4 separate regions of the Homo sapiens genome follow, and regions 1, 3 and 4 are each linked to region 2. The links are contacts of gene promoters, found by promoter capture Hi-C in blood cells and fetal thymus (Javierre and others, 2016). All regions are on one chromosome and are shown on one strand. The core of a region is centred on a gene start or on the middle of the fragment in contact, and the rest is flanking DNA. Distances in the headings are between cores, read along the strand shown.

Region 1 (6,657 bases), core at 1,272-3,771, 1.8 Mb after region 2:
TTTATTTATTTATTTATTTTTATTTTTTGAGATGGAGTGTCTGTCACTCAGGCTGGAGTGCAGTGGCGTGATCTCGGCTCACTGCAACATCCGCCTCCTGGGTTCAAGTGATTTTCCTGCCTCAGCCTCCTGAGTCACTGGGACTACAAGTGTGGTGCACCACACCTGGCTAATTTTTGTATTTTAGTAGAGATGGGGTTTCAGCATGTTGGCCAGGCTGGTCTCGAACTCCTGACCTCAAATAATCTGCCCGCCTTGGCCTCTCAAAGTGCTGGGATTACAGGTGTGAGCCACAGAGCCCGGCCAAAGTTCTCTATTTTAAAGGATTATGTACCTGTACCAAGCTGACTTCTAAGATTGTACCTGTACCAAGCTGACTTCTTATTCTGTGTACAAGTTAAATTGGCAGTGTTGATTGTAGCAGTAATTTCCCAAACTGTATTTCAGAATGATAGTAAGTGTAACTGGAAGATTTATAATACATTAGCATATTAAAACCATGAAAAATTCTGCAGTAAAGACAGTGATTTGGATTTCTTTAACCTAGCTCTTCCTAATCTTTGTTTTGTTTTGTTCTTTGTTTTTAAAATTTTAAGATTATGTTAACATTTCTACAATATCAATTTTCTATGGAACATAATTTGAAGTATTCATTCTACAAAGATCTGAGTACTTTGCTCTTGTATCTGGGGAATTAGAGTTGCCCTCGATAAATTAGCTGAGAAGGAGGCTTGAAGGAGGCCTGACTATTAACGGGTAAAAAACCTACAGGTTTTAAAGCCATCTGGGCTTATATATTAGATTGTGCTGTTTGCAATTTGTGAGACCTTGCTTAGTTACTTTACATCTTGAAGCCTCAGTTTCCTTATATTAGTATCTACCTGACAAAGATTATTGTGAGAAATAATATAATACATGTGTAAAACATGTAAAGACTGGTACATGATAAATAAGTACCCTTTTTACAAGCTAATAAGTTAGTGTGTTAATGTTTCACGGTTTCTGGCAAAAAAGAGGTGACCTCCAGGTTAAAGACTGATCATTACTCATGACATAGCAAGCAGCACGAACATCAGCATATTTGTGTAGGTTTTCCTAGCTACCAAATTCCACAGAGGGGCTGGGTGTCCATATGGATTCGTGCAGTGGGTTTGCATCACAGCTGAGGAACTCAGAAACTCAGAACCAAGGGTGCAGCTCTTTTTTTTTTAAAGCAAGCAGCAAATATCTTAGCAAACAACAAACAAACTAGTTCACCTTCTCCTGGGATGGCAGTTACACACTGTGGTTGCCTGATCTTTGTTCCCTGTGTAACTTATTAGAAGAAACAGCTCAGTATGAGGAAATGGAAAGCTTTACACACACTCAGCAAGAATGTGCAGGGACATTCAGGCCCATGGCTGACTGCCTTACTGAATAGTACATGTTCTGGATGAGATAATGTATAATGAGTTTTAGTTATACTCATTTCATTTTCCACTGGAAAGAAGTGTTGCAGGCTCTTACCTTTCCTTACTCTCTAGTTGTCACCTTTTCTTGCCAGCCTTATTCCTTTGATCGTCTCTTGTTTGTTTCTTTTGAATTTATCAGTATACTTTATCTGGCTTATATTCTTACCACACCTCTTTTACATAATCAAGGTTACCCAACTGCATAGTCTGATAGCTACTTTTCAGTTCTCATGTTGCTTGATTTCTCTGTTATACTGACAGTATGAATGTTCTTTGAAACTCCGTCCTTATTCCTGATACAGTTAATAAGAAGCTTTCTACTTCTCTTGACTTTTTCTGACTTTTCTTGTCTTAGTGAACTCTTTTTGTACTTAATCCATTCTCCTTAAATATTGATGCATTACCTGGCATGGAATATTGTCTGTTACTTTCTTCCTCATTTGACCATCCTTCAGGAATTGTTTGCATCGTGTGAATCATATTTGTAGAATATAGGTTGAGTATTCCTAATCCAAAAACCCGAAATCTAAAATGCCCCCAAATCTGAAACTTTTTGAACACCACATGATATCACAAGTGGAAAATACCACATGTACGTATTCAACACAACTTTGTTTCATGCACATATAGTCACGTTCATCTTTGGGTCCCATTCCCAAGATATTTCATTACGTATATGCAATATTCCAAAATCCAAAAAAAATCTGAAATCCAAAACACTTCTGGTCCCAAGCATTTTAAATAAGGGATACTCAACCTGTATAAATTTTTTGTTCTTTTGCTCAAAAACCTTCAGTGGCCCCTTACTGAATCTGCCCCCAACATTTAATAACATTTAATATTAAAACTTCCAAATTTTTAAAAAAGTTGAAAGAATTGTACAGTTAACCTCCATACAAATTGTGGGCTCTACAGTTAACAGTTTATTCTATTTGTATTGTTGTGTATTTATCAATCCATCTATTTTTCGATCCTTTCAAAGTAAGTTGCAGGGATCAGTGTACTTGCATGCAAGCCACATGTTTATCATTAGCCTACATTTTAATATTTGTTTATGGTTCTTTTTCTTTGAGGTAAAATCAATGTATATTAAAATGCACAAATCTTACATGGCCTAGTGGATGAACTTTGGCAAATTCAGATACTCATGTAACCCAAACCACCTTTGACATGTAGAGCAGAGATCAGCAAACTGTGGTCCAACTCCTGGTTTTGTAAATAAATTTTATTGGCACACAGCCATGCCCATTCATTTACGGTGGTAGGGTTGAGGACATTCATGTACTGCATAATGTCTTTTCATTCAATGAGGGACCTTATATACTGGGGTCCTGTAAGATGTGTTTAGATAAATACTGTTGTTTTACAGTTGCCTGCAGTATTCAATACAATAACGTGCTGTACAGGTTTGTAGTCTAGGAGCAATAGGCTAGACCATACGGCATAGTATGTAGTAGGCTATATATACCATCTAGATTTGTGTAAGTACGCTCTCTGATGTTAGCACAGACACTCATCCATCATAGGGACCCCACCCTCATGACGTCATCTAAACCTAATTACCTCCTATAGGCTCTAACTTCAAATAACATCACTCTGGCGATTAGGGTTTCAACATATACATTTTGGAGAGACACAAACATTCAGTTTGTACCACTGCCCTTTACAGATAAATTTAATGACCTGATACAGAATATTACCATCACCCTAGAAAGTTCCCTTATTATCCTTACTAGATCAATTCATACCCCCCAGGTGACTGTTCTGATTTTTTCACTTCAAATTACCTAGTTTTGCCTATTCTAGAATCATACAGCATGTAGTCTACAAAGCTTCTTTCATTCAGCATGAAGTTTTTTAGATTGATCCATGTTTTTGTGTATATCAGTAGCTCATCCCTTTTTATCATATAGTTTTCATCGTATAAATCGAATGAATACACTGCAGTTTATCCATTGCTGTTGATATTTGGGTTTTTAGTTTTCTTTTGCTGTTATGAGTAAAGCTGTTATATTCTTGTACAAATCTTTCTGTAAAGCTGATAGGAATGAATATTCTTGTACAAATCTTTTTGTGGACATATGTTTTTATTTTCCATGGGTGGAATTACTGAGTAATAGGGTAGGTGTATGTTTCAATTTTATAAGAAACCACCAGACTTTTTTCCAAAGTCATTATGCCATTTTACACTTCCACCATCAATGTATGAAGTTTTGGTTGCTCCACACACTTGCAAACATTCTGCTGCTGTCAATCTTTTTAATTTTAACCATTCTGGGTTTATTAAATTTTTGAAGTTTAAAATTCCTGTTCTTAGCATACAAGTTTTTTTGAATGGGCCCTCCCTACCTGTACAGTGACATATCTCTGTCTTCTTAATTTTTATGCACTGATTTCTCATCTGAAGTTCTGTACTCTCTCTAGTTTGTTTGCCTCATAAAATCCTGTTCTTAAATGTAAAAACTCCTTCGAATCTATAATTGAAAGAAGGAGGTAGAGAGAGTTTCTGACCTCTGTCATCAGCATCAAGGCAGAAGAAAGTTAGGATAACTTGTTATACTGAATTATGTGTTTGTGTGTCTTTCTAACCTTCTAGACTACTGCTTTTTCTCAAAGGTGTGTTAGGGTTCTGTCAATGTCTGATTTTTATTTCATCTTTAAAATAGATCTTTGTATGTTGAAAAAACTAATTGAGGAAATGTACACTCAAATATGTTGTATACTAAGTAGTACACCAAGTTGTATACCAATACTCAAATGTGTTATATACCAAGTTGTTGCTTATAACTTGAAGACCAGTATTATGTCAATTTGGGTTGCCAGGGTAAATTGCTTTTAAACATACCCCAGATTAAAATTTCTCTTGCTATTTTTGTGCATGTCTTGATATTAACTGTAAATACGTTATTTGGTTGAGTTTAGCTCATTAAAAAAAAATTATACAAATGAGTACACACCTGAACAGTGCTGAATCAAATGGTAGCCTTTGCTTAGGCACATTTGAGCAGTACATGATCTAATACTGGAGTACTATATGTGTAGTGGCAAATAAATGTATTGGAATTGTATCATGAAAATACCATATTATAATTTATAGCTTATGTTTTTGAGTGCCCTTTGTCAGATTTATGCTAAAGGTAAGGGAGCAGTTTTTAGATATCATTATTGATTATGAAACAAATATCCTATAACTCATTCATCTGATATATAATAGCTATATATTATAGTACTTCTGTCTGCTTCTGTTTTAGGTGTTGGTTAATAAGACAGTTAAGTTTTTGTCTCATGGCTCATGCTTTGGTGGAGAAGTGCAGATAGATAAGTAAGCCTAATGTCAGATAGTAATAAATTCTTTGAAGAAAATAAAGCAAGTTGATGGAATAAATAATAAATTCTATCAATTATGAAATAGCAATAATAGAACAGTACTTACATTGTATTAATAAAATGCTGCTAAATGCTTTGTACATATTAGCACGCTTAATCCTTCCACTTCTATGAAGTAGATAATGTCATTATCCTCAATTTGCAGGTGAGAAACATGAGACACAAACAAGTTAAATAATAGGCCCAGCTGTGATGGAGCTGGTATTCAGACTTGGGTGTTTTAGTTTTATATTGCTGTGTAACAAACATCTCTAAATACAAGTATTTATTTTCTTTTAAGATTCCATGGGTTGAGTGTGATCAGGAGATTGTTGATTCTACTCCACATAGTGTTAGCTAGGACTGGAGCCATTTTGGGGCTTGGTTGGGTTGGAATTTCCAAGATGGCTCACTCACTTGGCTGCAGTTGATGTTGTCTATTTTCTGGAAGCTCAGCTGGAACTATTGACTTCAGCATCTCAGTTCTCCTTTGTGTGCCCTCTTGATGTGACCTTGGCTTCCCACAGCATAGAAGGAAGAGGAAGCTGCCATTCTTAAGGCCTGGGCTTGGAAATTCATAATGTCATTTTTGCAGTATCCTATTGGTCAGAGCAGTTGTAAGACCCCCCAAATTCAAAGGGAGAAGAAATGAATTCCATCTGTCAGTGGGGGAGAAACTTGCACATACATGGAGGGGAGAATGTGATAGTGGCCATCTTTGGAGATGATGTGCCACACCAGTCAATTTGACCCCTTAGTAGATAGGGATCAGCTTAGTCAGGTAACTCCATCCACTCTTAAGTTGTGACAGTCACGCAGACTTGATTGAAATGTGAAGATCTAGTTCTAGTTGATGAGTATTGTAAATGTGTTAATAACCTGTAGTGGAAATGAGTTTGTTGATTGAAGATATAGGAGGAAAGCTGTATGGCTGCAGCAAAGTTAAGGGGATGGCCTAGAGTGGAATGGGACAAAACAGAAACAAATTTTATGCTGGATTTCATAGAAGAATGGAACTGTCATTTATAACTCTAGTTTATAATTGTTTCATGAAAGCAGTTAGGTCCACCTACATGATTTGCAAGGTCTAATGCCGAATGAAAATGTGGGGCCCTGGCCTGTGATGAGGAAGTCAATCTCCCCTTTCTGTAGACCTTGTTTTTGTATAGGTCTGTGGACCCCCAAGCAAATATGTAGTCTCCATGTCAGGACATGCTCATTACCTACATCAGTGATAGGCAAGAGGCCACCCTCTGAATGTGCCAGGGTGATTCTAGCCTAGGATGGGGATGGCTGTCACCTTGCCTTTCCCTAGTTGTAGGGTGAGGATTAGGAGGTCAGACTGAGCCACAGGGTTCAACTGAGTGAGAACACTTCCTGGAGAGGCAGACCACTGGTGAGCTGAGGTGTCAGGCCCCTGGCACATGCTCCATTGGAGTCCTATTGGAGTTTACTTATAAAACTGATATTTAGAGATAAAATTATTAAGAATTTTAAGACAGTGATCACAGGGTATTAAACCCCAATCATGGATTCCTCCTGAGTGGTGGTCTCATGTGACTAGAGTGATCACATGCTCGTGAAGATGACCCTGAAGCCTATGTTACTTGGGGTGGTGGTGGTGGTGATGTAGACCAGGGGTTAGTAGATTAGTAAACCCTTTCTGTAAAGGGCTAGATAGTATTTTAGGCTTTATAGGCCATGTGGTCTCTGTCACAGCTACTCAGATCTGCCATTGTAGTGCAGCAGTATCCATACCAAATATGAAAATGAACAAATGGGCTGTGTTCCAGAAGACTATTTGCAAAAACAGTGTGCTGGATTTGGCCTGCTTGCTCTA
Region 2 (6,751 bases), core at 4,088-6,587:
AATCCCAATATTTTCAAAAGCTTTAAAGTAGATAGCCAACGTGATAGTAGGATAAATTACCACATTTTTCCAGCTAGATTCAAATTATACCGAATTCATTCATCTCTGTAAAGTTAAATTTTGAAAAATAAAGGTGCTTTTACATAAGATATTATTTTTCAAAGTTTAAGTAATCTTGGGCACTTATTTTTAAGAAGAGCAAATCTTGTTCAAAAATGTCTATTTGCTTTGGGTAAAAATGTTTCAGATTTTGAAAAAAGTCTCTGATGGTTTATTTTTATTTTCTTATTTTACATTTTTGAACTTTAAAACATTTCCAAAACCAGTATTGGATCTGTTTGGGTTTGATATAGGTCGTGACATTGTTTCTTTTGAGTATTCTTAAGAGTGGTATTGACATTTGAAGAATCCAAATGGCTAGAAATGCAAAATAGGACAGTGATAATTTATGCTGTTTTAGTCATCTGCTCAGAAATGCACACTGAATGAATAGCCATTGTACTGTCAAAAATGTTGTACTAGCACTGGGAACTTTGTTGATCTTGGAAGCTTACTGTTTTCTAATCTGTGCTTGGTGACCTTTAAAGTTCCAGTAATATTTGCCTGTTAATGAATCAGACTTTGTTCAAGGCATTCCATTGACTGATTTTGCATTAATCAATAGTTTTTACTTAAAAGCCACAAAGACCAGAGCAGAGTACTCTGCTTGGTGCTGCTTAAGACCTAAAAAGAGATAATACAGTTTAGGAGCTTGGACTCTGAAATCAGACTGCTTAGCTTCAAATCCTGGCTCTGCCACTTATGGCTGGGTAACTGTGGGCAAATTGACCTCTCTGTGCCTCAGTTTTCTCGTTTATACAATAAGAATAATTATCTCAAGGAGTTGTTTGACAATTTAATAACTTAATAAATGTAAAGGGCTTACAGCAATTCTTGGCATTTAGTAAGCACTAGATAGCTTCTAAGATAAATTGTAGAAAGTTTCTTTCTAATGGCAGTAATACATGTGTGAGCTATTCATAAAAACAAAACAAATCGACCACAGAGGAAAGGATATAGATTAAGAATTAGAGCTGGGTACTATTTCCTAGTTTTCATCCCATGAAGACTGATAAATGAATATCACAATACTTGCCCTGATGCCTTAGCTAACAGCTTGATGAGGAGAACCAAATGAGATAATGAATTCTCTTAAATGAGGAGATCCAAATGAGATAATGGATTCCTTCCTTCCTTCCTTCCTTCCTTCCTTCCTTCCTTCCTTCCTTCCTTCCTCCCTCCCTCTTTCTCCTTCCTTCCTTTCTTTTCTTCCCTTCTCTTTCTTTCTTCTTGCCTTCTCTTCCTCCCTCGCCTGCCTGCCTTTCCTCCTCTCTCTCTCTTTCTTTTAGAGATGAAATATCACTATGTTCCCCAAGCTGGCCTTGAATTCCTGGGCTCTAGCAATCCTCCTTTCTCAGCCCCCTGAGTAGCTGGGACTACAGACACATGCCTCCGTGCCTGGTTGAAATAATGTTTGCTTTCTACTTGAGGCCTTCCCAAAATTTTTAGCCAAAATTGCTCCTTCTTGATCACTCCCTATGCTGTTTATTTATATTTTCTTCATGATACATAACACTAATTTTTGTGTTATAGTTAGTTGCTTATATGCTTCTTTCTCCAACTAGATAAGGTCTTGATGGTGGAGACACTGTTTTCTTACTCACTTCTCAAAACTCATCTAGCACTTGAAAATAATAGACATGTAATGAGTGTTTATTCTAAAGGGCTCTTACAGGTATAGCTTGACAAATCAACAGAATGATTATTATTACTATTATTGTTATTATAACTACCACCACATGTGACCTTATAGGGTATAATTATGTGGGTTTTGGGCATGAATATGAGTAGTAGAGTTGGGTGGGGTTAGAATGGAGCAACTCACACAGGGATTTTTTTTGAATAAATTCTGACTTCTTGTATTTCTGTTTTCTCTTTCCATAATCTCCTTACATTAAAATGCAACACATTAGGTGCAGCAAGTATTTTCCTGGCTATTAACTGGGTCAGATGTAAAATAATTGATTATTATGGGATCTGCAGAAAGCCTCTAGTCTTCCTATGTTGTTACCATATGATAAATGAGGTTTATGGAAATAGCTAATTATGTGTTTGTCTAAATTCCAGCTAGAACTTGGGGATTTATTTATTGATTCATTTATCTTTTAAAATTTTTTGAGTATTTATTTGCCATGTGCTAGACACTGTGCTAGGCACTGCATATGGGCAGTGGGACCTGCAGTGTTCGAGTCTATTCTGTATGTATAAACAGGAATCTCCATGAAGAGGCATAAGAATCACTCAAACATTGTGGTTCAAATCAACTTGAAAACACAGTTGGGGATCTTTGATCTTAGTTTAACACATTAGGTTATTTTCTTTTCTTGCAGTAATTGGATCTATAAACTTGAATTAATGTAGTGCTCATATTAGGGTATGTCAGCTGCACTGATCGCAAAATTTAAACGTATGAATCTTACTCTAGGAGAAATTTTACTCTGGCCCACTAGCAACTGCTAAGAACCATCATTTTCATGAGTGAACTTGGGCAAGTAACATAACCTTGTAAGCTCATCTGTAAAACTGGGATAATAACAGGCTGTTTCTAGATTTCCTTTGAGAATTATTTTTATATACTCAAGAACCTATGGGTGCTTTTGCGATTCTGTTGCTGGATCTATTTAATGTTCATACACAGTATTAGAAATATATGTGAAAAATACAAATTAAAATAAGTTCATGTGCTTTCTTAAAATTCACTAGAGTGATGATAGTTCTGAAGTGTAATGAATAGAGAGAAACATGCATTTCTTTATCCAGTTTTGAATGTGTGATATGTGGATGTTTCACATTACCTTATGGTGTATCAAATGTATGCTTAAAGCATAAACTTTTAAATGAGACATGCACTTTCATTTTTCATATCCTCTTTGTAAACCTCTGAAATCACCTACATATTTTATTTAAAATCAAAACATTACAATTGAGCAACTACAGCATGCAATTTCTTTCAAAACACAAAGCTTACTAATTTGCATCAAAATAAAAAAATCAAGACTGCTTAATTAAAACCTTGACACCATCAACCTCTTTAATTATACGTTAAAGAGACTGGCATCCTGGGGACACCAACTTGAAATCAGTGTGCATTTTGAGTGTCTCTGGTGTGTGTACATGTGCAATTCACAGAAGGGAAAAAAAGAGGGGCATTAAGAGAAAGCAAAAACATGATTTAAATTTTCTTTAGACATTAATAATTTCACACTTTTAAAATAGGTAGGAAAAGGGCAAATTTGTCTTTTCAGAAGAATAATGCAGACTAGAATTGTAAAACAATGTTTCATCTCTTTTCTATGTCTAAATTTCAATGCATGCTTTCTTTTTAAAGAACAAAGATTTTTATGATAATTATTACTTAGAAAACAGGGTTCAAAAGCTTGGCTACTGCTTGTTGGATGTATATAGACCATATTGGGTAAATGAAGGAGGAAAGGGCTGTCTGTTTCTCTCCTTCTTTAGAGTGTATATAAATTGTGCAGTAAAATGACGGCTTTTCTTTACATCTTAATTCTTGTTGTCTTCACTATTATGTGCCTATTCCCAATTTCTTTCTCTAGTCTGGGACCCAGCAGCTCTTTGTTCTCATTGTGTCTGTCGTCTCCCTTTCTTTGTGTTGCAGGGAGATACTGCTACCCGCATCTGCCACTGAGCATGCGGGAAAAATCCTTCAATAGATTCTTTACTTAGGACTTTCAGTAGTATTACTCCATTTCTCCAGGTTTTGGTAATAACCAAAAAAAATCCTAAAGATATACCGAAACTTGGAAAGGTGATGGGTGATACAGGTGGTTAGGTGGTGGGCTAGCAAGCTGGGACACAGGGAAGGTTAAGGGAGTCATCACACGCATTTAGCTAATTTATGGAAGCGCTCACCAAGCATGTTAAATGCAGAACATCCACCCTGCACACAGAAGCTAGAGATGTAGATTAACAACTGAGAAGATACAAGTGTTTCTGAGCAGGAAGACACAAAACCATATCTGAAACCAATAGATACGATGTGTTAGCAGCTCCAGAGAAATGAGGTACATTGTCACAAAGATTGGTATGTAAAGTCCCTAGCAAGGACTTTCACTAGATAGTATATCATCTGAGGATGAGAACCAGTGGTGTAGATTTTTCTCATAATATAATCTCAGGTTTTCCTCTGATTGTGTTAAACACTCAAAATGCTAAGTCAGTCAGTATTCATTGAACACAACTCGATTAAATTCTTCTGCTTAAAAGCCTCTTTTAAAAAAAGCAGATTTGCTCGTTTTCCAAGTGGTAAGAAATAGCAGGTTTGCAGGTGAGATTAAAGTGTATTGGGTAGAATTCTGAGGTTTTCTGTTTTCTGCTTTCCCACCAGCAAGTCTGACTTTAATAACTTACACATTATTTAATAGAAGGAGCACTAAACAATTTTACTCATATTTCTCCCCATAACCATTTTTGCCTATTGTACTCATTGCCCGCATCACGAGCTCTTAGAATGGTTCCTGGCACAGAGTAGGTGCTCAAAGATCTTTTGTTTGGGGAATGCATGAATATACATAGTATGAAAAAAAAAGCAGTTCTTCTTTTATTGTGACAAACAATGATGGTAACAGTTCAAATTTGACTATTTTAGAATAAATAAGTAAACACTTGTCTCCTTAGCAGCTGGCCACTCTACCTCTTAGAGAGAGGGCTTTCTTCTCTTTCTTCTCGGTCTCCTGTCTCCCACCATTTTGCTTCTCTATTACCAATGAGAACATGAGTGGCATGGTCCCAAAGCCTTTCTGTTCCCCCTATCTCCACTTTTCGGTTTTTAGAATAACGATCCCCAGCCTTTAAGTTTTCTATAGGATTCGTTAGCCAGTGGCTATTAAGTGCTGTCACGGAGCCTAACAGAGAGCTGGGAAGGGAGCAAACCAGCGGGCCGGTGGTGCACTACTCGAGGGCCAGCACCTGCAGCTGCTTCTTTGGGAACCCCCTGGTCCCCGCAACCGCCTCAGAGACCCGCGCAGTTCACTGTCCCACCAAGCGGCAGGAGGAGGTGCTTGTGGCGGGAAAGTTCAGGCCAGGTCCAATCAGGCCCCTGGGATTAGGTAGCGAGGGTGGGTGCGGCTCCCCGGCCCCAACCCGGGCTGCCGGCCCCGCCCCCTGGGTGGGCTTCCCCACGGTTCTCCGCCCCCCCCCCCCCACCCGCCCCCTCGGCGCTCTTGCCCCGCCCCGCTCCGGGGCCGCGGCTAAAACCCGGAGCCGCCGCGACGCCCAGGGGACTGGAGGGACGCACTGAGCATGTGCAGATCAGCTCGGTGGTGGCTGCCGCGGCCGGAGGCGAGGGCCCGGTGCTGATGCGAACCGCCGGCTCGGCCTCAGCCCGCGCGTGGTCGGCCCCCCAGGCCGGGGCGACAGGGAAGGAGCCGTAGCCTCCCCGTGGCCCGAGGAGCCGGCGCGGCGGCGCGCACTCCCCGGCGGCCGCGGCGCCCTCGGGGCCCACGATGATGGCGGAGCAGGTGAAATGCGCCTCGGCAGGGGTCAGCTCTGGAGCGGGCTCCGGGCCGGTGGTGAACGCGGAGCTGGAGGTGAAGAAGCTGCAGGAGCTGGTGCGCAAGCTGGAGAAGCAGAACGAGCAGCTGCGGAGTCGAGCGGCCAGCGCGGCCGCCGCCCCGCACCTGCTGCTGCTGCCGCCGCCGCCGCCCGCCGCGCCGCCCCCCGCTGGCCTGCAGCCTTTGGGTCCTCGGAGCCCCCCGGCCGCCACGGCCACCGCCGCGGCCTCAGGGGGCCTGGGGCTCGGGCTGGCGCTGGGCGCGGGGGGCGGTGGCGGCAGCGGTAGTGGCAGCGGCGGTGGCTCCAGCCCCGCGTTCCCGGGCACCTTCTGCCTGCCTAGCCCCGCGCCCTCCCTGCTTTGCAGCCTGGCGCAGCCACCCGAGGCGCCCTTCGTCTACTTCAAGCCGGCAGCAGGCTTCTTCGGCGCGGGCGGTGGCGGGCCGGAGCCGGGGGGCGCGGGGACGCCGCCAGGGGCAGCTGCAGCGCCGCCCTCGCCGCCCCCCACGCTGCTGGACGAGGTGGAATTGCTGGATCTGGAGAGCGTAGCCGCCTGGCGGGACGAGGACGACTACACCTGGTACTGCCTGGCTCCGCTCCTTCCCCGAGACCCTGGCCTCGGGGGCTTCGGGCACCGGGGAGCGGGGGCGGGGGGCGGACGGGGGTCCCCTCGCGGCAGCCGGGGTGACTCCCCGCGGCTCCCGGAGGGGCCGACCCAGCAGGTGTTGAGCCAGGCGGTGACACTTCCCACGATGAGGCTTCTCATGAAGGCAGAAACCTGTTTTCTAATCGCTCCGACTGCGGATGAACCGGCCCCCCCTTCCCCCCATCTGCCATGGGTTCTGCTATTTGCTGATTGTTGGGTCCCAAGCTCCTCGTTAGCATTAAGTGCAAAATCCATGTCATCTTGTCTTTTTGCTCAGTGCTGCTCTTTTCCCCAGTGTTTTCGGAGGGATGACGGGGGATGGTAGGGGTTGGCCTCTGTCTGCGACTGTTACTGTTCTTTCGTTTTAAACGAACGCTGGACAGGATTTGCGTGCTCTTCCTCCTCGGGTGGCATCGGAAGCCGCGCAGTGATGGATCTCTCTTTATAGAGAGGTTCGTTCTTGCTGTTTGAATTTTGCAGTCGTGTGCCCTTTTG
Region 3 (6,828 bases), core at 3,778-6,277, 1.7 Mb after region 2:
CACTAGATCAATGGCTCATTTCTGTCAGGGAATCTTTCATCTTCATATAAAGTTTGATGAATAAAATAAGAAAATAAGTATGTTGGGTTTAGTGATTATCGTCCAAATATCGCATTCATTATTCAAGAAAATTTTAAAAGCACCTACTCTGTCACTGTTCTAGATCCTGAAAATACAACTTTTAGAAACATCACTGTTGCCACGGAATTTACATTGGGGGGTGGGGGGAACCAATATGCATATTACACAAACATACGTTTATAGTATGTATTGTCATGTAGACACGTGCTCTGAGGAAAAATCCAGGTTGAAAAGATAAAGTGTAAAGGAGGAGAAAGGAAGAAAGGTAAGGAGAAAGAAAACAGAAAAGATAAAACAAGTATTATTTAAGATCATCAAGGAAGGACTCTGTTGAAGGGACATTTAAACAGGGATCTGAATTTAGATAGGAATGGAAATGGAATGCAAATATGCTTTATGGCTATCCGGAAAAGAAAAAATTTTAAAAAGCCCAGGCCAAGGGAACCCATCAGAAAGAGCCTAAGGCCTACTTGACCTTCTTGACACATATGAGGGACAGGAGTCCAGTGAAATGGAGCAAAGTGAGCATTCACGAACACTGGGGTTTCCAATTTTAATTCTCCAAGGATTTCAAATTAACTGCTTCAGTGAGCTTTGGCAAATTAAATTTCCAAATCACTATGAAGTCATTCACATCAATGATTTTAAAGGCATAAAAATAAAACTTTGTCAATTCCTGAATATACTGTGTTAAGGATACAGCTAATAAAGTTTTTTTTTTTTTTTTCTTTTCATTTCATTTTTTTAGAGACAAAGTCTTGCTGTTACCCAGGCTGGAGGGCGGTGGTGCAATCATGGTTCATTGAAACCTTGAACTCCTGCCAAGAGATCCTCCCACCGCTGCCTCCCCAGTAGCTAGGACTACAGGTGCACACAACTACACCTGGCTAATTTTTGTTTGGGTGTACAAATAGGGTCTTGCTCTGTTGACCAGGCTGGTTTCGAACTCCTGGCCTCAAGTGATCCTTCTTCCTCGGCCTCCCAAAGTGTTGGGATTTACAGGTGAGAGCAATAGTGCCCAGCTGGCATCTTTGTTTTTAAAAACAGTTCAGTTGGAGACTTCCAGCTTCATGCATACCCTTTAAAAGCATAGAAGTGACCATCTAAGAAGGTCATTCTCTTCCAACTATATCTGGGGTGGAGAGGGAAGTACACACACTAAAGTTACAGAAGCCAAATTAATACAGAAAATCAAATGTTATAATAAAATATCTTTAAAAACTAAATATTCTTAACAAGAAACAAATCACCTCTGGAAATAAAGGTTGTACTAATCCCCCAACACACCCATAGTGTGTTTTAGTTTTTCAGATTTTCAAAACAGTAATGAGACCGTAAAGAAAGCTATAATACTCCAATACAATATTTCAAAAAGTTTGTTTTGCACGAGTTTCTTGGAGACTTTAGAAATTCAGTAGAATATAACTCACGGAATTTAACCCAAGCTTCCATGTTCAGTAATCTTGAAAAGAAGCTGGAGGTGGTAGTGGGAATTAAAAATTAAATTTAAATATGTTAACTGAGTAACTTTAGAACACGGATATGCACCCACGTCTGTTCTTTCCAAATTTTCATTTTATATTCAGGAAAAATATCTAATTTGCATCAAAGTCATGATTTTATATTCTGTACTTAGAATTACTCTTTTAAAAATCCAAATTTCATTGCAGCAAGCATAATACATACATTGAAAATTTTAATTGTAGTTTATTACATGCTTCACTTAATTCAAACAAGAAAGCAAAAATAGATTACTTATATACAGTAATTAGTTACAGCAAAGACTACTCATTAAGAGTTATTATACACCCAGTTCATTCTACAAAATAAAATCAAAATATAAGCATATCTAAATATGATCCATCCTTGAGCATCACACAATCTATTAATACTTCTTCATCACTGCAAAATGTATCACAATACATGTAATTATAACACTGAAAACTATTGGCCAGTTCTTTTATTCCCCCACATCATTCCAAGAAATAGCATGATTCCATCTTACTTTTAGAACAGTGGTTCTCAAACTTTTTGGTATCAGGAGCCCTCTATGCTTTAAAAATAGGAACCACTCCAAACAGCTTTTTATTTAAAAGAGTTATATCAATATTTATCAAGAATTAAAATTGAGAAAAAATTTAGTTTAGTTTGATATAATAAATCCATTAAAACTAGCATAAAAACTCTCTATATTTGTTTGAGTAATCAGAAGAAGAATTTATGTGCAAACAAACAGGAAGCCCATATGTGGGGCTGGCTTTTTTTCTGAATCCAGGAGTTCAAATCATATCACCAGGACTCTCTATTCTGCATTTTTCACTTTCAGAAATGCTCTCTATGTGTGGCAAAAATGATGGCCCCCAAGCAGTTCCCAGCTTACATTATTCTAACAGCTAGTGAAACCAGAAAAAGGAGGCTACTCTTCTCTCCCCCAGCATCCGTACTGGCCTCTGAAAATGACTCATCTTCCCCATTTAGGTCATATCCCCACTGCAGGTCAGGGATAGGCAGAGCTCTATGATAAATAGCCTCACCTGAAATTAAATACCATATTTTTAAAATTAAAAAAAAAAACACAAAAACTATTTTTCCAAAATAAAATACAAATTTTCTGAGAAGAGTGACCAAGTTTTACACTTTTTGCAAATACCTTTGTTTGGCTTAATAGAAGACAGGCCGATTCTTACATCTGTTTTTACATTCAGTCTGTTATGACATGTTATACTGGTTGAAGTACATGAAGAAAACCTGACCTGACACAGATACATAGTTGGAAAAACAAGGACCTCATAGACACCATGAAAGGCTCTCAGGAAATTCCAGGAATCCTGATATCACACTTGAGAACCATAGCTTTAGAAGTTACATAACTTCTAAATTAAATAAAAAAAAAAAAAGAAGTGCCCATTAAGTGTCAAAGACCCAATAGTCAGATAACAAAACCAAAGTAAAAGTTTGTACTGTTCAGTGCAAACAGCAGCAGCCCAAATGACAAATTAAGCCCAGATAGTTGTGGTTATAATTATGGTTATACATCAAGCCACAGAACTCTCTCTTTAAAAAAAAAAAAAAAAAAAAGGTGTATCTGCAATATGGTAACCCATGACTAACCTTCATATTTAGGGTTTTTTTTTTTTTAATTCCTATTCATAGTTGAGGAAGAATTGAGTTATCTGAGAAAAGACTGGTTCTAGAGGCCACCCCCACTCCATTACTCACATTCTGTCTAGTTAACAACAGATCTCAGGTAACCCATCCCTCTGGTTACTAAAATGAGAGAGCAGAGGCTAGTGAACATTTTCTTTTAAAACCAAAAAGGCAAAATTATCCAAAAGAAATAGCACTAAAACTAGAAATACAAAAAACCTAGTTCTATCATCCTGTTGGATAAATTTGGCTGAGTCGATTAAGCCTTTAACCTTTTTCTCATATTTCTTTAAAAGGTCTGGCTAATGCTGTGTGGTTATATATGTTAGAGATTCACTTCTAAGTCTTTCTCTAACATTGCTACCAAAATTTTCTGATACGGTTACCACAGTCATGCCAAAATTTATCTTTAAAAATGAGAAATTATTATGGACACTTTTCCGGTCATGAATCTTAAGACTAAGCAAACTAAGCTTCAGTTTTTTCATCTAACAGCTGACTTGCCAAACTAGAAATAATTACAAATAAATATAATTACAAATAAGACACACTTTATTAACCTGCCAAGCACCCTAACAATCGTTAAGGGATTACTAAATAATGAACTATGATAAAAAAAAATGCCTATAATCACCCCTAAAAATATACTTTAGTTAAATTCTGGTTGCTATATTTTAAGTCCTATATTACCTTTCAAACCTACTTTGTCCCAAGCCAAATTGTTAGCCTTTCCATGAAGCAGTCTGGTATTGAAGAAAAGCACTGAACTGTACTCCAAAAAACAATTTTCAGATTTCCAGTCTGGTGTTATTTCTGCTTTATTCACTAGTTATATAATCCTGCGTTAGCATTTTATTTCTCTAGGCTTTAGTTTACTCATTTAAAAAAAAAAAAAAGGCACTGAACCATACGATCTGAAAAAGTGGGTCATTTTTGTGAAAAAATATTTGGCTTTCACCACCTTGCGCTCTTTCTCCCTTCCCATTCCAGTAACTTTTAGTTAACTGAATTTCAAAATAATTTAGTACATAGCATTAGAATCTTCAAGAGAATTTTTTTTCTTTATGTCTTTCTAAAGAGTCACAGAATCCCATTTCCTCAGCACTCATGACCAAATTTTGAGCCCTTAGAAGGCATAAATAAATTCTACTTAATAGAAACATTTTGTGTATTTCTCCTAAATTGCCAGACCTATATAATTTCTGTACATTGTTTCTACCACTGTTACATAGCAACTACTGGTATGTTTGACTGTTTCTCCCATTGGTATTACAGATAACTATGCCTGCCTTTTCCCTAGAACAAATCACAATGTATTGAGAAGGAGCTTCTAATTACCAACATTATAGCAATCTAAATTCAGGCATTTCACAACTCACTCTTAAACTAGACTAAGAAATAGCTAACTAGTCTTCCTTTGTCTTCAAAACGTTTTATCTAATCAAACCTCTACATGCCATAAACTGGAATGCAGTGGCGATCTCAGCTGACTGCAACCTCCGCCTCCCGGGTTCAAGCAATTCTCCTGCCTCAGCCTCCCCAGTAGCTGGGATTACAGGCATGTACCACCACGTCTGGCTAATTTTTGTATTTTAAGTAGAGATGGGGTTTCACCATGGTGGCCAGGCTGGTCTCGAACTTCTGACCTCAGGTGATCCACCCACTTGGGCCTCCCAAAGTGCTGGGACTATAGGCGTGAGCCACCTCGCCCAGCAAGCAACATTCTTAAAAAGAGACTGGATCAAGTAACTCCTGTTTTAACCTTCCCCACATCTCATAATATAGCTCCAAAATTGTCCAATCACTTCAGTATAGCAATAAAACTTTCTCTACATCTGAAACCCACAGAGGCTAGGTGGATTCAAGAGCCTTTTCCTAATCACAATGTATACTCACGATTCCTCCAAACTTCATGTATTCTCACAGAACTTAACTGTTCCTCCAATTTGGCTGTTTAATGTCATCACAGGCATCCAAACTTAACATGATTCAATTTAGGTAAGTGCATTAACAACTTTAGAGACTGGTAACTGCAAGTTTATAAAGCAGTTTTCAAAAATAAGTTCTACCTATTTCAGTCTGCTTGCTACTATAAAAAATTAAACTTTTTAAAAAGGTAAGATAAGCACTTGAGATCATTAAAGAAAGTAATAGTAACAAATAAGAAACGTCACAATGACAATTTCTTACAAAATATGTCCAAAAAAGATCACAAGTTACAGGCCTCAAAGTACCTGTTATTGCATTTATAACTATTACAAGGAGCAACAAATAAACGACCGGCTGAAGTATATATTAATGCTATGTGGAATCTATAATCATTCAAACACTTTTCATTTATAAGTGACTTCATTTAAGATTTTATAAATTTTTTTATCAACTTTTAAATTGCCTGTAAAATGGAAAATAAATAATTGCAGAATGTATGGAGCAGAGATATACAGAACTCAAAAGTAGGCTAGAATTTACACTGACACACTATCTCCCGTAACTTCTTTTAAAATGGCTCTTTGAAACAAAAAACAAAATGAGGAACTACTTATAATGCAATACATAACATCATAAAACAAGTTCCTCTGAAGTACTAGATTTAAACCAAGAAAGTATACTTAATACTAAGAAAGCCTCCAACAGCAGCATTAGCTGACTTCTAGAAAATAACTTCTACTAATGAGAATAAAGCAAACATACACATAGAGGAAGATGTTCATTGCAGAGTTATTTAAAAAGTCAAAAACAGTGTACTAGTTGCGTTGTTAAAGAAAAAAAGAAACGGGAAAAAAAATAGTTATTTGGAAAGCCAAAGAAAAAAGCAAACAACCTAAATGACAAATAAGAACAGAATGGTTACATAAACTATAGTCTCTCATCCATGTACTAACCAAGCCTAATCCTGCTTGCCTTCCAAGTTAGATGAGATCAGGGGTGTTCAGAGTGGTATGGCCGTAGATGATTTGGTCATGCAAAAACACTGGATTTCAGCCATTGTAACGGCATAAAAACTACATATTAACAGTAAAAGTTCAAGGATGGGAAACGTAAAGAGGATTTTGCTTTTCAAGTCAAAGTCTTTTGGTAAGTTTTCCTTGACTACATACAGGAAGTACTTAAATAATTCAAGAAAATAAGCTTTTTTCCCCTAAAAAGTAATAATTACATCATAAATAAAGCACTATTTAAACAAAGTGCAATACACTCACATAATGGAATTCTATGGAACCACTGGAAAGAATAGGAATCTACCTAACAGTATACTTTTATGGGATGATGTGCAGTGTTACTGGAAATACTAGTTGTAGTAGCAACATATAAATGATTCTATCTATGAAAAAAAGTCATGTATATTCATCAATAGGTGGCACATGCATATTTTTACAGATATATGTTTACAAGTTTATATATGAGAATCAGAAAGGAATAAGAAGACTGATTTTTGGTTTCTATTTCTACACTGTTTAAATTTTTATTAGAACCATCATGTACTATTTTTAATTAGTAAGACTTAAGAAATTGTGTCAAATTAACAATAATGAGAGCATTATTATTGTTAACTACTGTATATACCATGATTCTGACAACAGAATACTACTCAGCAATACA
Region 4 (7,236 bases), core at 2,041-4,540, 1.5 Mb after region 2:
AGTGTCCGATTGTCTTTGCATATCAGTCTGATAGCCAGAAGTATTCCATAAATTGGGGGGAGAGTTGGATGGAATTGTACCAGATGGTAGGAGTTCAATGAGAAAGAGAATAAAAAGGCTCACCTATTTTGAAAGTATTAATCTTTTCTCGAAAAAACAAGAAATATTAGAGAGGCTCTAGGAGGCAGAAGAAAGAAGATGAACTGAGAAGAAAGGTTACAGAACGCAATAGAAATGGCTTTAGGGGTAGATGAGAACATGACACCCACATTTAGAAGTGTCGAAGAGATTAGAATAGTCAGAAATGTGATATGGGAGAGCAAAATTCCCCCAAAGAGACAGCATGGGGAATGGCTGTGCAATAGCAGTGCTAACAGGGACAAGGACAAGACACGATTAGGACTGCTCTGACCTAGGGGCAAACAACCACTGCCAAGGACCTTAGAAGGTCCATCTTTCACTATCTAGAAAACTGGCTGCAAAAAGATGTTCATTCTCTTAAGCAGTAAAGCCAAGTTCAAAGACCTGTACCCTTAAACTAATAAGTTAAAACCCCAAAAGAAGGATTTTAATAATTATGAAATAATTTGAGGACATAACAAGAACTTCTACTTAAGAAATAGAATCTTTTGATTAATAATAAAAAAAGGCAATATGGAATAAGCATCCAAAAAGTCAAATGTTAATAATATTCAGCCTTGAAAAGGAAGGAAGTTCTGACACATGCTACAACACAAATGAACCTTGAGGACATCCTGCCAATTGAAATTAGCCCATCATGAAAAGACAAATACTGCTCGACTTCACTTATATGAGGTTTCTATGTGTACTCAACTTCATCGAAACAGAATAAGTACAGAGTGCCAGTTTTGCAAGATGAAAAGTTCTGGAGATTGGCTATACAACAACATGAATATAGTTAACAGTACTAAACTGTACACTTAGAAATGACTAAGGTGCTAAATTTCATGTTATGCATTATTTACCACAACAAAAAATAAAAATAAAATGTTTAATTTTTAAACCTTTTTAAATAAACCAATAATGCTACAAATGATTTTCATTCAATTATCTTCAAGACACAAAGGAAAAGATAAAAAAAAAATTTCAACCATAGCCCAAGTTATGTGGGTATATTGGAATTATTTGCTCATCTTAAATTTTCACAGAAGTAACACGGACTTCTCCTTAAAACAAAAAATCAAAATTTCAAACCAACAAACAATATGCTGTCAGTTTATTTCATGGTTACATCTTGAATTTAGCTAAAAAACACAAGGCAAAAATTCTCTGATGCTGTATGTCTTCAATATTTGCCCACCTACCCCGAAACTAGACAGGTTTTGCATTCTTATGCATTTTTCTCAGATTTTGTGCTTAGATTACTTTTTTTCTTGCTTTTCAAAAGTGCCTGAAACCTATTTCCTTATACCTTTGCTGTAATGAGGGGAAAAAAATTGTTTGATTAGAAATATTTAGGGGTGGGCAAAAAAATTTGCATTTCTGCTGACAGCTTCTATACTAAGTTTGGCCCAGTGGGATTAGAAGTCTCTGAGATATTAAACCTCGGAAAGAAGAATTTGTAATGGAAAGGCTGAAAGAACTTAATTATAGCCAGTAGCACCACTCAAATACTTTAAGCATCCTCAAATGTGCTGTGTTATCTTAAGAGAAAAAAAAAGATACAGAAAAGATGGAGGTTATGGATCAGACATAGGCATCACCAAAAAAGCAGTTTCACTTCTGGGTAATTTGGGGCAGCCAGTCTAACCACAGAACATCCGCAGTGCTATTTAAAGAACTAGAGAGATGTCACACTCATTATGACACCTGCAATCATTAAATCTGAAAATGACTTTAGCTAACTTCTCATGAGTGCCTCGCTCAGGACACCTTCCTTGTGTGTATTTAAGATCTAGAGTAGGAAGAGTCAATTGAGTTTCTCTTATCTTAAAGTAAAAGACAAACATCAGAAGGTCTCTGCTTTTATTTGCAAGAAATACAATTCTCCTATAATATATACTAGAGTTGACCCTGGAATAGATTGTTCTGTCATTTTCCTCATTTCTTCCTTTTCCTCACTTATAGCAGAAAAGTCTTACCCATTCCCCCACTCTAAGTGTCCCCTCTGAGCTGAGAAACTTGATGATCTTGTCACAGGTAAACAGGCAAAAGAACATCCCTGCACTTTCCACTGTCCTAGGCATGCGGCTGAATGCAGGGCTCTGCAGAGAGGAACCATCTCCACGCTGTTGTGCCTGTAGTATTGGGGCACCAGGTCCTCCACCTACATGATGAGAATAGTCTTTATAACTAATAATCCTTATATCAGAATAATTAGACAAACCTTATATTCTGAGGGGTACTGTCATTCTCTTAACCTAATTCCTGGAATCCAGTCCCTTATCTGTCTTAATCAAATTTTCTAAAAGTTCCTTCTCACTTCCATTGACTTAATGACTATTGTAGCTTTAGCTTCCTTTTGCATCCAAGACCACAGACTTCCACAAGTCTGCTTGATTTTCTTTTCCAAACACAAGGAGTCATTTTACTCATTGATTGCTATCAACCTATGACTCCTGATAGGCCTTATCATGTTTTAAAACCCTCATCCAAATTCCAATAGCTCTGTTTTCTGGAACCTGAACTGCCCTTCCACCCCCAGCCACCCAAATCTCTCCTATTTCTGATTCCCTGAGAGAATGTTTTCCCTCTCTCATCCATTCCATGAAGCAACACATTCTTTCATGGATTTACTGGAATTCGAGGGAACTGCCATTGCAGGTAAATCTTTCACATTCTTATGATGAATTCAGAACTCCAAAGTAGCAAAAGTAACATGATGAAGTCCAGATTAAAGTATTTTGTTCATCATTCAGATGGATTTTCACAGCCAGCTTGTATGTAATGATTAAAGTTGTAACCAGGAGCAGACTCCAGGCCATTTCTTGCTTTGCCTGGGAAACCTATTTAATGTAACAACTTCAGATCACTCTGTCCCTTGAGGCTTCTCTCCCACACCTATTAAAGAACACCACCAATAGAGATAGCTACCTAGATGACAACTGTAAAAAAGAGGAAATTTTGTCAAAGACAACCCCTATCATGGAGCTAAAATAATCAAGACTCTATCTAATGTCAAGCAACTTCCTTCTTAATATATACTTTTAGCTCCTGTACATATGTATTTATTTTTACTGCAAAATGTGAGATTACCATGTGCCTACCATATTCTAGGCACTGGGGATAACTGTGTACTGCTAGGCAGGAGGCCTGCCCTTAAGGAGCTGACCTTTCCCTGGCTGCTTGATTCTTTTTCTTCTTTATCTTTTTTATTGGCCATATCAGAAGCAGCTGTGAAACCAATTCATGCTTGTCTCTACTCTGCACTAACTTCTTCATTCATTTATTTAGTCTCTTCCTCATATCAGTGCTTCTAGATGAAACATTTTTTCTCTCCTAATATGCTTTTCCAAAATAAATTACTCATTTTGAGGTGCTTTTAGCACTATGAAAGACACTTTAGTGGCCCTCCTTAAAGCTGTCAACATGCACCCACATAGCCAAAGGTATCCTGTTGGAGTTGAACTGTACTATCCACAACCCAATATAACATGAGATAGTTGGGTTTCAAATGGTTTTGTAAGGTTGCCTTTCATTGGCGGGTGGTAATTCATCTTCCAATCAGGCCATCATCAACAAAAACACTTTGTGAGTAGAATACAATAACTCTTCTTTATACACTCCTGAGGTTATCTGAGTAAAATTTCTCATACCAAGCAACATTTCCTCAGTCTTTGAGCTTGCTCACCTTACCCTACTCTTATCTTCCCCAATCTCAGTCAGTGTGATATAGAAATAGAAACTCATTTTAGTACCCTCCTCGAGAGGCTGCTGTGTATGCCACCACTTTGTCTTTCAAACACTGATATGGATTGGCTGTGTCCCCACGCAAATCTCATCTTGAATTGTAGTTCCCATAATCCCCTTGTGCCATGGGAGGGACCTTGTGGGAGGTAATTGAATCATGGGGGTGGTTACCCTCATGCTGCTTTCATGACAGTGAATAAGTCTCACAAGATCTGATGGCTTTATAAAGGAAAATTCCCTGCACAAGCTCTATTGCTTGCCACCATGTAAGACGTGGCATTGCTCCTCATTTGCCTTCTGTCATGATTGTGAGGCCTCCCCAGCCATGTGGAACTGTGAGTCAATTAAACCTCTTTCCTTTATAAATTGCCTAGTCTCGGATATGTCTCTATTAGCAGCATGAGAACTGACTAATACAAACACACACACAACACATAGTGTTACTCAGAGTGCTTCTGTTATGCACATGGCTACTAAAAAGTCAAATTAACATTTAAGGAAATCACTCCCATCTATTGCGTCAAAACTGACTGAGCCAAAGGCAAACCCATGGAAGAATCAGAAATCAGTGTATCCTGAACTAACTTGAAAATCCTTACTCTAGACTGCAAATCAAATTTCCAGCTGATTTTTAGTGATGAACACTGCAGGTACACTTTTTGGGTAGCTTATGGACAATAAAATACCAATACGTAGTTCTCTTCTGGTCCATATAGATCAAAGCAAAGCCATTTACAAAAGATTTTCCTGCTTCATAATCCCCATGAAGTTGAAATTCACCTCTCTCAGACTTAATATTGTTTCTTTCTTCCCACAGTAAAGACCCGCCGCCTGTGAGATGACCCAGGCAGAAGTTCAACACTTTGGTACTTCGTGCCTCAGGCCTTTCACTAAGAAAATTGAGTGTGAGAACTTTATCTCCAAAAGTGTCTGCCTGTTGTGACATCTCTCCTGGGTCTCTGCAACCCTAAATTCTTCATTTCTTTTCAGAATTTAGCTGAAAAGCACTTTTTGCTGCCTGTTTATCTCAATGTCTGTCTCTCACTGCTAGTATTTATTGCTTATCACTGTAAGTCTTCATTGAATGTAATCTGTTTGGGGATACAGTTGGCATGAAAAATGCTTCACCAAATGAAGTTGTAAAGTATTATACATAAATACTTAATTCCTGGATTTATTTATTATCATCATTACTTATTTACCACCATAGGCATCCAGGACACCTTTGAAAGAAATAAATCTGGTGGGTTGCTCTCCCAAATTTTATCAGAATATCTTATAAGATATAAATTAATGTCATTATGTAATAAGTATTAAAATTCCTTATATGGCTAGTACACATTTTAGTTTATGAAAACTTGTACATATCTAATCTTCCCAGCCTTCCAATGGTGAAAATGATTGAGTCTCCAGGTTACAGGTCAAGAAACTGAGACTCAGAAAGTTTGAGTGATATTCCCAAGGTCACGTGAATAACGAATTTCAGAGCTGGGCTCAAACCCAGGTATCCTCCTCCAGGTCCTAAGCCCTTCTCTCTCCCACAGCTGCCTACAGGATCAGCAGGATGAAAGTAAACCCAGCAAGGGCCAAATGAGAAACAAAACAGGATCCATTGTCTCCTTTCTCTGCTTTGTGAAGCCTTCATGACAGGGTACAGTTTGGTATACACTGAATTTACATTTTATATTGGTGAAATTAACATGACTTTGTATTTAATTCAGGGTCATTGAACCCTAAGTTTACATTTGAGGTCCCCATACTGAATTTCTATTTGCAATAGTAGGCAAGCTAGAAAAGGCCACTGTAATTAGCCCTAATTAATACACTAGTTAGTACAATTAATGAGTTCTTTTCTCTATGTGCCCAAGAAATACTGGAGATACCTGAGCTACAATTAGGCCATTTAGTGGAAAGAGTCCTGTGCCAGCAAAGGGAGACACAGATCCATGTGGAGCAAAGAAAGGTGATGTTTGTTCATATGAGTGGAGTCTGTGACCTTTATTACTTTTAGATTATTAGAATGCATTTAAGTAATGGCTATACATGCTTGAAAGTCTGATGGGCCTTGGAAATACATTCAATTACATTTATTCCATCCAATACATCCTTACTCTGCCAATGACAGATACAGAGAAAAAAACTATGCAATAAGAATTTCCATGGCTAAGCAGTTATATACATTTTAGGGGATGTTTTGAAGCATTCTGTTTGGATGGTAAACTCATAGTCTCTTGCAACTTCATTTGTTTGTCTGTTTAGGAGTCTTTAACAGGGAAAATTACCTTTCCATCAGTTTTTTTGAAAGTATTCCAGATTTTACCATCCTTTTCAAGAAAATGTCTACCTCTCATTCAGGTAGTCCTACACTAAATCCAGTCTCATACCCTTGCGCATTCCCTGAAGGGAATAGGAACATGAGCCCCGAATTCCCATGGGAAGTCTGCTGCACAAACCAACAGAGAATTTCAGAATAATGCTGTTCTTGTCACTGGGAGCTCTGCAAATAACCTTTGCTTATATAATACAATTCAATCTAATTGATGTTACAATGAAATTCCGGCTCTGCAAATCTGTCTTATCTTTAAAAGTTGCCCCGTGTTACCCCTTCCTAAAGGAGTGTTTCAGTGCAAACCCCAGAGGCTGTGGACATGCAATTCCTCAAAAGGAATAAATTAACTATTGAATCTTATACTGGCAGTCGATGGAGCATAGTAAGTCCCCAAATAAATATACTGCCTGGAAAATTTGATTCATTTATAATAAAATAGATTAAATTGTCACCTTGAACTGAAAAATAATTACTCTTGAACTAAGTGTAACAGACCAAATGCATCTATTTTGGACAAGAAAAAAAGAGGAAAGGGATAAATAGAAAATGTAATGTCTCAGTTTACATAGAAACCATCTGAAAGAAATTAAAAAGTGGGAAATAAGGAATATAAAACATCATGCATATGGGCAAACAATGTAAGTGTTTTCCATGTTTTCTATTCACATCATTGATTTTAGTTCTATAATCAAAATTAGGAAGCACATGAGTTCAAAACTGAGTACCAGAATAATTAACTTACTTTTGATATCAAGTGGATAAAAATTAAGCTATTATGATGAGCATGTATGATATATTAATCCACAAATCATTAATAAAGTTATTAGTAATTTAATTTACCAAATTTATTTCTATCCCCAAAGGAATGGATTATAATAATAATTGGGATTTGTGACAGTTTACAACAAAGGTTATTTAGACAAGCTTAATAAAATGGAAAATAGAAATTCAAAATTATAGGCAGCCAGCCAACAAGTTAAGCTAACTGTGAAGATGATAACATTATTACAAATAATTAACAAATTTGGCTCTCAGCA

Evidence for each region. The method cuts DNA at HindIII sites, captures the fragments that hold promoters and counts their contacts. A CHiCAGO score of 5 or more calls a contact.
Region 1: a fragment that was not itself captured here is called in contact with the fragment with the promoter of SLAIN1 in region 2 in 1 of 17 cell types (non-activated CD4 T cells); the score reaches 5.6 in non-activated CD4 T cells.
Region 3: a contact is called between a fragment that was not itself captured here and the fragment with the promoter of SLAIN1 in region 2, in 1 of 17 cell types (naive CD4 T cells). The highest score is 5.5, in naive CD4 T cells.
Region 4: a fragment that was not itself captured here is called in contact with the fragment with the promoter of SLAIN1 in region 2 in 1 of 17 cell types (total B cells); the score reaches 5.8 in total B cells.

What each region holds. Positions count from the first base shown.
Region 1 is chr13:79,484,010-79,490,666 of GRCh38, forward strand. All of the region lies in intron 1 of NDFIP2 (Nedd4 family interacting protein 2), which reads left to right. Among named protein-coding and RNA genes, the nearest start is that of NDFIP2-AS1, 6.1 kb to the left of the region's middle. The HindIII fragment of the contact is 1,519 bases long and covers 1,763-3,281 here.
Region 2 is chr13:77,692,350-77,699,100 of GRCh38, forward strand. It overlaps SLAIN1 (SLAIN motif family member 1), which reads left to right and starts at 5,338. Exons shown (of 7, transcript NM_001242868.2): 1 at 5,338-6,190. The coding sequence starts at 5,565. MIR3665 (microRNA 3665) reads right to left here and starts at 5,767; the gene lies at 5,663-5,767. RefSeq lists silencers at 5,096-5,655, 5,856-6,095, 6,256-6,405. The HindIII fragment of the contact is 5,751 bases long and covers 3,474-6,751 here.
Region 3 is chr13:79,383,453-79,390,280 of GRCh38, forward strand. All of the region lies in intron 1 of RBM26 (RNA binding motif protein 26), which reads right to left. It also overlaps the pseudogene RNA5SP33. Among named protein-coding and RNA genes, the nearest start is that of RBM26, 19 kb to the right of the region's middle. The HindIII fragment of the contact is 2,656 bases long and covers 3,700-6,355 here.
Region 4 is chr13:79,192,711-79,199,946 of GRCh38, forward strand. No RefSeq gene overlaps it. Among named protein-coding and RNA genes, the nearest start is that of RBM26, 210 kb to the right of the region's middle. RefSeq lists enhancers at 1,528-1,617, 1,728-1,947, 2,208-2,327, 5,201-5,832. The HindIII fragment of the contact is 7,662 bases long and covers 1-7,121 here.